Linked DNA regions of Homo sapiens: region 2 is linked to region 1. The links are contacts of gene promoters, found by promoter capture Hi-C in blood cells and fetal thymus (Javierre and others, 2016). All regions are on one chromosome and are shown on one strand. The core of a region is centred on a gene start or on the middle of the fragment in contact, and the rest is flanking DNA. Distances in the headings are between cores, read along the strand shown.

Region 1 (5,963 bases), core at 511-3,010:
TGACACCCGCTGGGGATACACAGAGTCTGGGGCTTCGGGACCCCAGGTGGGCCCTGAGTGAGGAAACCTCAGGTGCCCTCAGGGAGACAAGGAACTTGGAGAAAGTGATCGCAAAAACAACAACAACAACAAAAACAAACCAGTTCCTCCGAAGAAGGGCAGTAATGCGGACCCTTAGGTCACAGGACAGAGGCTGGTTAAGGAAGCCTTTATTGATTCCAGAGGGTTCCCCCGCCAATATTTATTTTTATTTTTATTTTATTTTTGGAGACAGGGTCGTGCTCTGTCCCCCAGGCTGGAGTGCAGTGGCACGATCAAGGCTCACTGCAACCTCGACTTTCAGGGCTCAAAGGATCCTCCCAACTCAGCCTCCCGGGTAGCTGGGACCACAGGTGCGGGCCACCACACCAGGCTAATTTGTGTATTTTTTGCATAGACGGGGTCTCACTATGTTGTCCAGGCTGGTCTCGAACTCCTGGGCTCAAGCGATTCTCCTGCCTCGGCCTCCCAAAGTGCTGGGATTACAGGCGTCAGCCACCATGTATGGCCATTTCCCCAGATTGTTTCATATTCCTCTTTTTCTCGCTCAGCCGGCATAGAACATCCCCCTTTACGCCTGGGACTTCATAGCTAGGCACTTGCATAGGTACGCAGCGCCCACAGTGAGGAGGATCCCTACAAGGGCAGCGATGGAACCGGAGGCCAAAGCTGTGGGCGCGGGGCTCCAAGCTGGGAGCAGAAGGCGAGAATTAGGAACGGAACACAGGGAGGTCTGTCGACCCGCGTGGAGCTCACGCTTGGTCTGTGCGCCCTCTCGGGGTCATAACTCTCTCTGCCCCCTTCCTCCTAGTCCCCAGGGTTACAGGGGTGCCTCACCGAGCATCAGTGTAATGGGTGCCGAGCTGTTGCGGACCACCAGGCCGTCGAGATTGAGGCGCGCGTGGCAGATCACGGGCTGCCAGAAGTCGCGGGGTCCAGCAGCAAACTCGTAGGTCAAGGTCACGTTGGCCAGATCCAGGCCGGTGAAGCGCTCCAGGCTTTCGGAATAGATGACCCGGCTTCCATGCCTCAGGGTCACCACCAAGTAGCCCACCGGGAACACCTGCGTCACGTGGCAGCGCAAAGTGTATTTCCTGCCCTTTAAGACCGGAGGCTCCAAAATCACGCTGTGGGGCGGTTCTAAGGCAAGGGGGAGCCTCTGAGTGAGGTCCGCGGGCGCTCCCTATAGAGCGACTGTCAACTACCCTTCCCCCACCTCTTCCAGCCCCCTCCCCTCACCCCAGCCGGGACCGAGCCCCTGTCCCTCACTGTAGGCGGTGATCCTGGAGGTGGCCCAGCGTGTTTTTCCTGCGCAGGTCACGAGGCAGTGCGCGAGGGAGCTCCAGGCCCTCACGTCGAGCAGCTGGTAAGACACCCAACCCGGCCCTCTGAGCGTCTTGCCTTGCCGCAGCGGGGTGCGGAGGCTGGAATTCTGCGGCTGGGGACAGCTGTTGCTGCAATTGAGCTGCACTGACTTCCCCGGCTGCACAGCCACGAACTCCGGGCTCATGCGCACCCAGAAGGGCACTGAGGTCCCGGAGGGCGCGAGAGGGCTACCCTTGGGGCTTTGCGCCCGCTTAGTCCGGCGTCCCAGCGCGCTCCCAACTCCCGGGTAGGCGGCCGCCAAAAAAAACAGCAGCGACAGAGGGAACAGAGACCCCATGGCAAAAAGCCCGGACTAAGGGGCCCCGCGCCAGAGAGCCAGGGCCGGCTCTAGAGATAAGGAGGCCCGCAGCCCCGCCTCCTCGACTCCACCCTGGAGAGGAAGGGGAGGCCCCAACAGAGGGCCCGGGAGTACTGCAAAAAGGGATTCCGCTCCCCAGGTCAAGAATAAGATTCCAGGCCTCATTAGAAACCAAATGTTTTTTTCTGGAGAGGAGTCTTTAGTTTTCACTAGAGACCCAGAAGGTCATAGAAAGTCCGATTTGGACCAGAACCTCAGGGTATGGCCATCAACCCACAATGTTTTCTTGGGGGAGGAAGTGGGAGGATCAGGCTGTGGCTGCTTAGAAAGGACTCCAGCTGGATGTGACACCTCCCCTCAACTCACACAAGGCTGAGGCAGTTGAGAAAGCTTTATTAACTAACACAAAGGAAGTCTGGGCAATGTTGCGAGACCCCGTCTCTGGAAAAAAAAAAAAAATCAAATTTGCCAGGTGTGGTGTTGTGAGCCTATGGTCCCAGCTACTCAGGAGGCTGAGGTGGGAGGATCACTTGAGCCCAAAAGGTCAAGACTGCAGTGAACCATGATTGCACCACTGCACTCCAGCCTGGGTGACAGAGCGAGAGCTTGTCTACACATACACACACACACACACGCGGATGAGGCTTCCAAAGCTGGGAGGGAGTCCTCCAATACCTTGGCCCCCTTCCCCACTGCTTGCAGGACCCTGATCACTGCAGGAAACTGGAGCTGCATAGTGCAAGCTCCCAGTGAAATGCAAACAGGACAAGAGGACAAGGCATAGCTTGGGCATATTCCCTGGGCACTCATGTCCAGACATGACCGCTGAGTGTCATTGTGAACACTGGCAGAAATGTATGTGGGTGGGGAGGTGGCTAACAAAGGTGTCAGTTTTGGGGGGAAGGGAGGAATAAGGCCTCACTGGGTAATCTCTGAACCTGTAACCATTACCAGTCCATATAGTGCTTTTGTGCCGATAGAAAAATCACTCCTTCTGGGGAAAGGCAGGTTGGCCAATGAGAAGTCCCAGCCCCATTTGATCTTTTTGCCAGGCACTCTCCTGCAGTGTACAACCTGTACAACTGTACCTGGTGACCTTGAATGTGATTAGGACTGGGAGCTCCGTGAGGCCAGAGACCTATGTTCATTTAGCCTACATAAAAGACACTCAATAAATAGCTGGTAAAATAACAAATGAATAAATACATATCATCAAGGGTTGGGGTCAGTAGACAGCAGTGCCCAAGCTGGCATCCGTCAGGAAGTGTGGGCCTTTGTGTTTTGATGCTACACATGTCTATGGAGGGCCACTTCTTCTGTAAGTCTGTGGGGCCTCAGCATACCCAATAGGCAGCAAGTTTCAGTATTTCCCAGTTGTATGTCCTCATGGTGGGGCTATGTCTCCCCCACCACTTCCCCTCTCATCAGGCTAGACTTTAACATCCATCAATCATGTCTTGAGTCTTGCTCCTTCCTCTTGGCTTAGTCATGTGACTACAGATCAGATGCGTGGCCTAGTGTTTTAGGTGTGCAGGTACCATGGCCCCAAATGCTGTTGTATCTGACTGAGGACAATGCCCTGTCCTCCGGCGTCCCAGGGCCGGTAGGTGTAGCTGCATGGCATATGTCTTCCACTCTGTTCAGTGTGGCACCACTGCCACCAATATGGGAAGGCCGAGGAAGAGGCCCTGTCCCGGGATAGGTTCAGGGAGGCGTGGCTTGTGTGTTCGGTTTCATGGGGGTCCCTTTTTGGGCCTGTTGTAGTCTGTATTTCTTGATCTTCCGCTGGCGGTTATAGAGGTACGTGCTGAGGCCTGCAGTGCCCATTATGACTGCGGCTGCTACCACAGTGATGATGACAATCTCATACCGGGGGGCTGTGGGGAGGATACAACAGGCGGTGAGGATTGCATTAGGTCCATGGCCCCTGCCCCCACCCAGCTCTGCCCGCCGGCTCACTCACAGAGCACATTCACGGTCACCTTGCGGGTGACCTCCCCTTGAGTGCTCCTGGCCCGACAGAGGTAGGTGCCCTCAAGATCTCGAGTGACAGTCACTGATTCCCCGATGGGCAGTGGGAAAGTGCCATCCTTTAGACACTTGAGCTCGGGCAATGGGTTCCCCCAAGCCTGGCACATTGGAGTCTGCTGGGAATTTTCTGGCCACGTCCAGTTTCCCGGACAATCCCTCTCGTCCAGTCGGGGGCCATCTGGAAAAACACGATGAGATGACATGGAGGTGGGTGGGGGCAGGACTTGGAGGCAAGACCTTATGGGACCTTCAGGGAGATTGGGCCTTGGGGGATAGGGGCCATTGACCAGCAGCCCCACTCACACAGGACACGAAGCTCCCGGGTCTGGTTCTTGTGTATAAGCTGGCCGGCCACCTCCAGGGTTGCAGAGCAGGAGAAGCTGCGCCCGTTGTCCTCTGGGGTGGCCTTCAGCAGGAGCTGGGCCCTCGGGCCCAGTGGCTGGGCTGGAACCCCATTCAGCGTCACCTTGGCTCTAGGGTGGGCCTCACACTTCACTGTCACCTCGGTCCCTTCTGAGACCTCTGGCTTCGTCAGAATCACGTTGGGCGCCGGAAAGCCTGGAATAGGCACACAGTGAGCCCCGCCCCGGGTTCAGGTCACACCCCCAAGAAGCCCCACTCCGCCCCTGCCCCTTCTTACTGTAGATGGTCACTGTCTGCAGTGTCTCCTGGCTCTGGTTCCCCAGTATTACTGCACACGTCAGCCGCTGGGTGCCCTCGTCCTCTGCGGTCACACTGACTGAGGCCTTGGCCGAGAAGGAGTCGTTGCCATAGGTGACTGTGGGGTTCAACCTCTGGTCCCCCAGTGCCAGGTGGACCTGGGCCTCCGAGACTGGGAACAGCCCGTCCAGGGAACAGACCACGGTCCCCTGCGTGTCCACCTCTAGGACCCGGGGGCTGACAAGTTGTGGGGGAGTCGCTGGCAGGACTAGGGAGAGAAGAAAGGTGTGAGCAGACAGGGATGGACGTCCCGAAGCCCTTCTCTGGGGCATTTCATTCCCCCTCCTGCGAGATCCTCTTCCAGGGCCACTCAGCAGCCTAGGTCACATACGCCTAGAACACATGCACCCCTTAGCCGGGGCCACACCCATCTCAAAAGATCCTGTGGCCACAGGCACCGCATTGCAGGATACCCCACCCCCACCTTCTCCCTGCTGGCTTCTTCAATCCTCACCAAAGGTCTGGAGCTGGTAGGGGGCCGAGGTGTTCTCAAACAGCTCCAGCCCTTGGGGCCGCAGGTCCAGTTCAGTGCGGCACGAGAAATTGGCTCCATGGTGATCTCTCCTCACCAGCACCGTGGTCGTGACCTCAGCGGGCTCCCCCACAGCTGGCTCCCGTTTCAGCTCCTTCTCCCCACGGAGCAGCACCACGGTGAGGTTGGCCCGGGGTGCCCCACCCTCCACCTGGCAGCGTAGGGTAAGGTTCTTGCCCACTGGCTGCCAAGAGGGGAGGGGTGCCAGTTCCACCCGTTCTGGAGTCCCTGCAGGAAAACAGAGGTGGGGGTGTCTGGTGAAGTGGACCTTGCTGCCTGCCTAACAGACGAACTGCACCTGCCTGGGAGCCCTACCTCTTCAGTATCTCCCCCAAACACGCCCAGACACCTAAGCAGATAGGAATGTCAAGATCTTCAGTGAAAACTGGTAAGAGGGCCCCGAGTGTTTGTGAAGGGGATCAAAATATTCCTTATTCATGACAGCAGCATCTTAGAGTGAAAAGTGGAAAAGAACTTCAAAGTCTATTGCTAGGTGTCTGGTCAAATAAATTCAGCAGCCCAGTGCACTAGACTGGGCAAACAGTGGCTCGATCTTGGCTCACTGCAACCTCTGCCTCTGGGATTCAGGGGATTCTCCTGCCTCAGCCTCCTGAGTAGCTTAGATTACAGGCACACACCACCACACCAGGTTAATTTTTGTATTTTTATTTTTAATTAATTAATTAATTAAGTTTTTAGACTGAGTCTCCTTCTGTCGCCCAGGCTGGAGGGTGATGGCATGATCTTGGCTCACTGCAACCTCTGCCTCCTGGGTTCAAGCAATTCTCCTGCCTCAACCTCCTGAGTAGCTGGGATTACAGGCACGTGTCACCACACCCAGCTAATTTTTGTATTTTTAGTAGAAACGGGGTTTCAGCATGTTGCCCAGGCTGGTCTCGAATTCCTGACCTCAAGTGATCTGCCCACCCCGGCCTCCCAAAGTGCTGGGATTACAGG
Region 2 (5,963 bases), core at 991-3,490, 350 kb after region 1:
AGGTTGCAGTGAGCCAAGATCCCATCACTTCACTCCAGCCTGGGTGACACAGCGAGACTCTATCTCAAAAACAACAACAACAACAACAGCAACAGGAACAACAAAACAATGAAAACACCAGGAAAGTTGCAATTCAGAGATACGGAGGCAGTCATCATTGTTACTGCAATGGACTCTCAACAAAAACGGGTTGTTCTCACAATTGGAAACAGGAACATTCCTGCAGGAAAATCCAGTGTCTCCCAATTGTGCTTAGCAGCTGCCTCTACCAGCATAACAGGAAGATTAATTCCACCTTCTTCCACCACCCACTTCTCATGCTTCTAATGGATGAAACCTAATTGGCCTACAGAAGTTTAGCTGCAAGGGAGTCTGGAAGTATTTTCGCTTTGCAGGCTCTATAATAAGGAATGCATACTAGGGGGTTGAAATGATGCCAAGAACCACCCCCTGCCCAAAACCATATATTTTGGTTTTGCTTGTACAGTGTCCTTTCTCTCTTTTAGTGGTCAACATTCTATATCCTTCTCTACCTCCCACTTCCTATCCAATGTAGGTTGAATAAGGCTAACTGCACTCTCTGGCTCCGTGGGGGTGATCTATGAGCCAGACCTAGCCAAGCCAAATAATGAATTCCTCTGAATACATAATTGGTTCAGGATGGGCACACAACTTGGGATGCATAATGAGACATTATTTTGCAAGCTCTCTTTTTGCTGATGCTGCTGAGCTTGGAAGAGAGAAGCTTCTGGAAACCATCTTTGTCATCTCTTGGCTAAAAGTGAATCCTTCCCAAAAGACAGCATGGAATGAGAAATGAGAGATGAGAAATGAGAGATGAGGAATGGAGAGAGACAGAATCCTGATGATATAACAGAAACCCTGGATCCAGCCATGACTGAATTCCACTACCCTCATTTTTGTTTAAGTTATATGAGCCAATAGATTTTTTTTCTTAATCCAGTTCAAGTTGAGTTTCTGCTAAATTCTACCAAAGGACCTCTAAATAATATATTCAGGGATTAGCAAGAGCAAAGGTATGTGTTGGCAGGCATTCACTTCATGATCATTTTCTCTATGAAGTGGGTGGTGCAGGGTGTGAGGAAACAGATGTGGGCTGTGAGAGGGTGACAGGAACCCATGGCTGTCCAAGTTCCTGTCTAATTGGCTGTCCAAGTGCCAATTAGAAAAACCCAATGGCCAGATGGCAAGATCCAACGCCCTGCCTCCCTGCTTCCTGTCATGGAGAATGACCTGTGCCCAGTGCCAGACCCTGAGTCCCCAGTTCATCCATTTTGCCACAATAGATCCTTGAGAAGCGGATCCTGATGTCTCTTCAATGATGGCCCACAATTCTGACCACTGCACCATAGACAGTGCACTCTTCTTAACATTAACCACAGTGCTGACCTTGAAGCTGATATCAGTGCAACTAGGATGCTGAGTGTGACTTTGACCTTAGTATGACTCAATCATAATTTTGACCATAGCTTGGCCAGGTCATTATCCACAGCAAGCTCAGGACAAGGACCATAGCACTAGGACAGAGCACAGCATAACCAGGAAACTGACTGTAGTACTAATCACCACACTGACCACAACACAACCAAGAATGACCAGGAGTGACCACAATTCTGACCACAATGCTGACCCTGGCAGAACCAGGATGTTGACGGCAGCACAGATCCCGGTTCAACAGGACACAAACCACAATGCCATCAGGACACCCAGAGGGCCACTAACCATACCAGTCAACGACCAACGGCATCGAATGCATTGACTAAGGTCCAGTCAGAAAAACAGCCCATCCCAGCAAATTCAATAGAAAGAATTTAATATGGGGACTTTAATTAGCCACACACTGAGGTATTAGGTAGGTAGGTTTGTTTGTTTGTTTGCTTTTGTGGGGTTTTTTGAGACAGGGTCTCACTCTGTTGCCCAGGCTGGAGTGCAGTGGAGTAATCATAGCTCACTGCAGTCTCGACCTTCTCAGGCTCAGATGATCGTCCCACCTCAGCCTCCTGAGTAGCTGAGACTACAGGTGTGCACCACCATGCCTGGCTCATTTTTGTATTTTTGGTAGAGATGCAGCATCTCTACAGAGATGTTGGCCAGGCTGGTCTTGAACTCCTTGGCTCAAACAATCCACCTGCCTCAGCCTCCCAAAGTGTTGGGATTAGAAGTGTTAGCCATGGCACTCAGCCGATAGGTAGGTTTTGTTTTTGTTTTTTTCTTTTTTGAGACAGAGTTTCACTATTGTTGCCCAGGCTGGAGTGCAATGGCATGATCTCAGCTCACTGCAATCTCTACCTCCTGGGTTCAAGCGATTCTTCTGCCTCAGCCTCCTCAGTAGCTGGCATTACAGACACCTGCTACCATGCCTGGCTAATTTTTTGTATTTTTAGTAGAGACAGCATTTTGCCTTGTTGGGCAGGCTGGTCTCAAACACCTGACCTCAGGTGATCCACCCACTTCAGCCTCCCAAAGTGCTGGGATTACAGGTATGAGCCACCGCACCTGGCCCTATTAGGTTGGTTTTAAGCGCAAACTGGAGCAGGTGAATCAACTCTAGTTGCTAGCTATCATCTTTGCAAGGACTGAAACAACAAAGGGAGGTGGTAGTTACCTGAATCCAGGAGCTGCAGTTACCTGGCCAGTCACCTGCCCCCACCCCCCACCATGGTGGGGAATACCTAATGGGACTGAGACCACAGAGGAGGCACAGCAGCCATGGCTAGAGACACTCAAAGTGGAGGGGGGGAAATTCTCTGGCTTCTCCTTTCTTGGCACCCTCCAATCTGCCTGTAGACCTCCCATTGGCTGAGCCTAACCAGATGCAAAGAAGCCTGGGAAATGTAGTGTGTAGAGAACCTGAGAAAGATAATTTGCAGGAGCCATTGCCCTGATACAGAGGGGAGCAGGGGGAAAGTGGGGAATAGATCTAAGTGCATATCGACCAAATTCCAACCATATAACACAGGCTGTAGCTTAGTTGTAACTGTGATCGTCTTAGTGACCAGAGCCCAAGGAGGACACTGTTCATGGTCCTGAAATGCAGCATTCATGAGTCAAGAGTGCTGACTCTTGACCGTGAGACCCACTCTTGGTCAAGAGCTTGTGGGTCCTACCAACCAATGTCCTCCTTTTATGCAATGCCAACTGCAGGCTTGGCCTGAAGGGCCCACAAAGGACTGTCTCCCATTTGGGAAAAGGAGATAGAAGAATAGGATGGGTGCGGTGGCTCATGCCTGTAATCCCAGCACTTTGGGAGGCTGAGGCAGGTGGATCACCTGAGGTCAAGAGTTCATGACCAGCCTGGCCAATATGGTGAAACCCCATCTCTACTAAAAATATGAAAAATTAGACAGGCCTGGTGGCAGGCACCTGCAATCCCAGCTACTTGGAAGGCCGAGGCGGGAGAATTCCTTGAACCCGGAAGGCAGAGGTTGTAAGCCGAGATCAAGCCACTGCACTCCAGCCTGGGTGTGACAGTGTGAGACTCCATCTCAAAAAAAAAAAAAAAAAAAAGAGATAGAAGAATAAACAGGATGTCTTCGCAGGCTCAGACTCTATTTTGTGTCCACATCCCATGATGAGTGTCCTCAACCCAGTGCATGGTTGGTTATTGCAAGGCGTGCTGGGGAGTGAGTGCTAGCTAGGTGCTCTCTTTGCTTAGAGTCACAGATGTCTCCCAATAACTGCAAAAAACAGGTCTTCTAAGAGGGGGAAAGCTTTTTCCCTAAGGTCACATGGCCAAGAAGTGGCAGCACCAGGGTTGAACCCAGATCTGTGGGTCACCAAGCTCTTTCTCATTGACCTGACAAAACCATCATCGACATGTTTTATCCCCAGTAGGGTTGAGACAGGAATGATCCAGGGTGGTCACAGGCAGCCGTTTCACATGACTAGAGGCTATGGGCTGATAAGATCCTGAAAACCAGGGTGTGGACCAAGCTGGCTAAGACCTACTGGACCCAACATGGCGTTACATTCTACCTAGGTTTCACCTAGGATCTCATTATGTACTCATTAAAATACTAAAATTACCCACCCACCAGCGCCCTTGACAATTCCAGGGACACCCAAATTTGGTGTAAAAGTGGGTGGCACCACAGTCCACCTTTTTCCAGTTTTCATGAATATTCCATCCCTTGGTTAAAGAGATACACAGTGGCCTGTTGTGGTGGCTCACGCCTGTAATCTCAGCACTTTGGGAGGCCAAGGCGGGTGGATCACGAGGTCAGGAGTTTGAGACCAGGCTGGCCAATATGGTGAAACCCTGTCTCTACTAAAAACACAAAAAATTAGCCGGCTGTGATGGCGCACACCTGTAATCCCAGCTACTCAGGAGGCTGAGGCAGGAGAATTGCTTGAACCTGGGAGGCAGAGGTTGCAGTGAGCCGAGATCACACCACTGCACTCCAGCCTGGGTGACAGAGCGAGACTTTGTCTCAAAAAAAAAAAAAAAAAAAAAAAAAAAGAGACACATAAAGGTAGCAGTCCCAAACCACCTTGCCCATCTCTCTCTCTTAAGTACGCCCACTCCCTTTTCTCAAGTGTGGACTTTTCCCTTAACAAAAAAATCTCCGAACTTTTCATGATTTTCTGATTCCTCCTTGAATTCATTCTTGCGATGGTGTTAAGAGCCTGGACACCAGCTGGGGTCGAGGCCCCACCAGCGTCTGGGGAGACCCCTCCTAGCCCAACAGTATCAGGGTCACAAAAATGCCAGGCTTCCTGGCCTCGCATATTTTATGCCCGATTTCTTTCCAATCTGACTTATTTGCCCGCCCCCCTCCTCCACCTCTGCCTACATATATCCGAATCCCTAGAGGGGCTGTGGGGAGGAAAGACGACTAGGGACACTTTTTTTTTTTTTTTTTTTTTGAGACAAGGTTTGCTCCTGTTGCCCAGGCTGGAGTGCAATGGCACGATCTCTGCTCACTGCAACCTCTGCCTCCCGGGTTCAAGCGATTCTCCTGTCTCAGCCTCCCGAGTAGCTGGGATTCCAGGCATGCACCACCACGCCCGGCTAATTTTTGTATGTTTTAGTAGAGGTGGGGTTTTGCCATGTTGGCCAGGCTGGTCTTGAACTCCTGACCTCAGATGATCCACCCTCCTCAGCCTCCCAAATTGCTGGAATTACAGGCGTGAGCCACCGCGCCCGGCCTAGGGAGACTTTTGGAGGAGTGAGAGGCAGAGAAAGGCTGGAAAGCCTCCCGAAAGTGAGGCTAGACAAGGACGCCCTTCATATGCAAATGGCTTCGCGTGGAGGCGGTGTTAATATTTTGATTCTCTCGGGGGATGTGGTCTTTCATCTTGGGCTATTGAAACAGGGAGCGAAGAGAAACTCTTCCAGGTGTGGCGGAGGCGGGGAGGCTTCCAGCGGGAGGACTGGTGGGGAAATGGGGCGCCCGGGGAGAGTGAAAACGAGACGCCCCTTTTTGAGGCCAAGCCCACCCACGTGGCCATTTCCATTGGCCTCTTGCCTGATTCTCGGTCTCCTGTCCCCCCAACCTCAATTTTTTCCTCTTATTCCCCGTCTCCATCTATGCCTCACCCCTCTTGTCCTGGCATTGACCCCTCCTCCAACTTCCAATTTCAGATTCTGCCTCAGTTTCCCTGTTGACTCTTGAGTTTTTAGGGAGGGGGCGTTCATCATTTCCCCTCTCTGCTACCAGGCCTTCCTCCTATTCCTCTCCCCCAACCATTCGTCCCCGTCCCACCTGCAACGTGGGAAATGCCCCCGGAGGGTGAAATTTACAAACACGTGACGGGCACCCCTCCCCCACCTCCGCGACCCGCTCCCGGAATGGCCTGGGGGTTGGGGGGCGCTGCCAAGTCCTGTCCTCAGGTCCCCTCGCCGGCGCTGGCTCCCCCACTTCCCCGCCCCCACCCCCCCACCCGACCCTGCTCGAGCTGCTCCCGAAGAGGAGCTGGGGGCGGGGCGGGGGGCGGAGCCC

The links. Contacts are between HindIII fragments. The CHiCAGO score rates a contact against its expected background, and 5 or more counts as called.
Region 2: a contact is called between a fragment that was not itself captured here and the fragment with the promoter of ICAM4 in region 1, in 1 of 17 cell types (total B cells). The highest score is 7.0, in total B cells.

The regions. Positions count from the first base shown.
Region 1 is chr19:10,282,752-10,288,714 of GRCh38, reverse strand. It overlaps ICAM4 (intercellular adhesion molecule 4 (Landsteiner-Wiener blood group)), which reads right to left and starts at 1,760. Exons shown (of 3, transcript NM_001544.5): 1 at 1,309-1,760; 2 at 877-1,179; 3 at 195-729. The coding sequence starts at 1,702. The coding sequence ends at 611. It overlaps ICAM1 (intercellular adhesion molecule 1), which reads right to left. Exons shown (of 7, transcript NM_000201.3): 3 at 4,929-5,234; 4 at 4,395-4,682; 5 at 4,058-4,312; 6 at 3,687-3,932; 7 at 2,100-3,600. The coding sequence ends at 3,428. ICAM4-AS1 (ICAM4 antisense RNA 1) reads left to right here. Exons shown (of 1, transcript NR_186335.1): 1 at 1-2,914. It overlaps LIMASI (lncRNA inflammatory and mucous response associated, antisense to ICAM1), which reads left to right and starts at 5,265. Exons shown (of 4, transcript XR_007067138.1): 1 at 5,265-5,394. RefSeq lists enhancers at 1,633-1,772, 1,119-2,088, 2,143-2,192. The HindIII fragment of the contact is 2,558 bases long and covers 1-2,115 here.
Region 2 is chr19:9,936,552-9,942,514 of GRCh38, reverse strand. No RefSeq gene overlaps it. Among named protein-coding and RNA genes, the nearest start is that of OLFM2, 3.0 kb to the right of the region's middle. RefSeq lists an enhancer at 4,981-5,483. The HindIII fragment of the contact is 2,986 bases long and covers 748-3,733 here.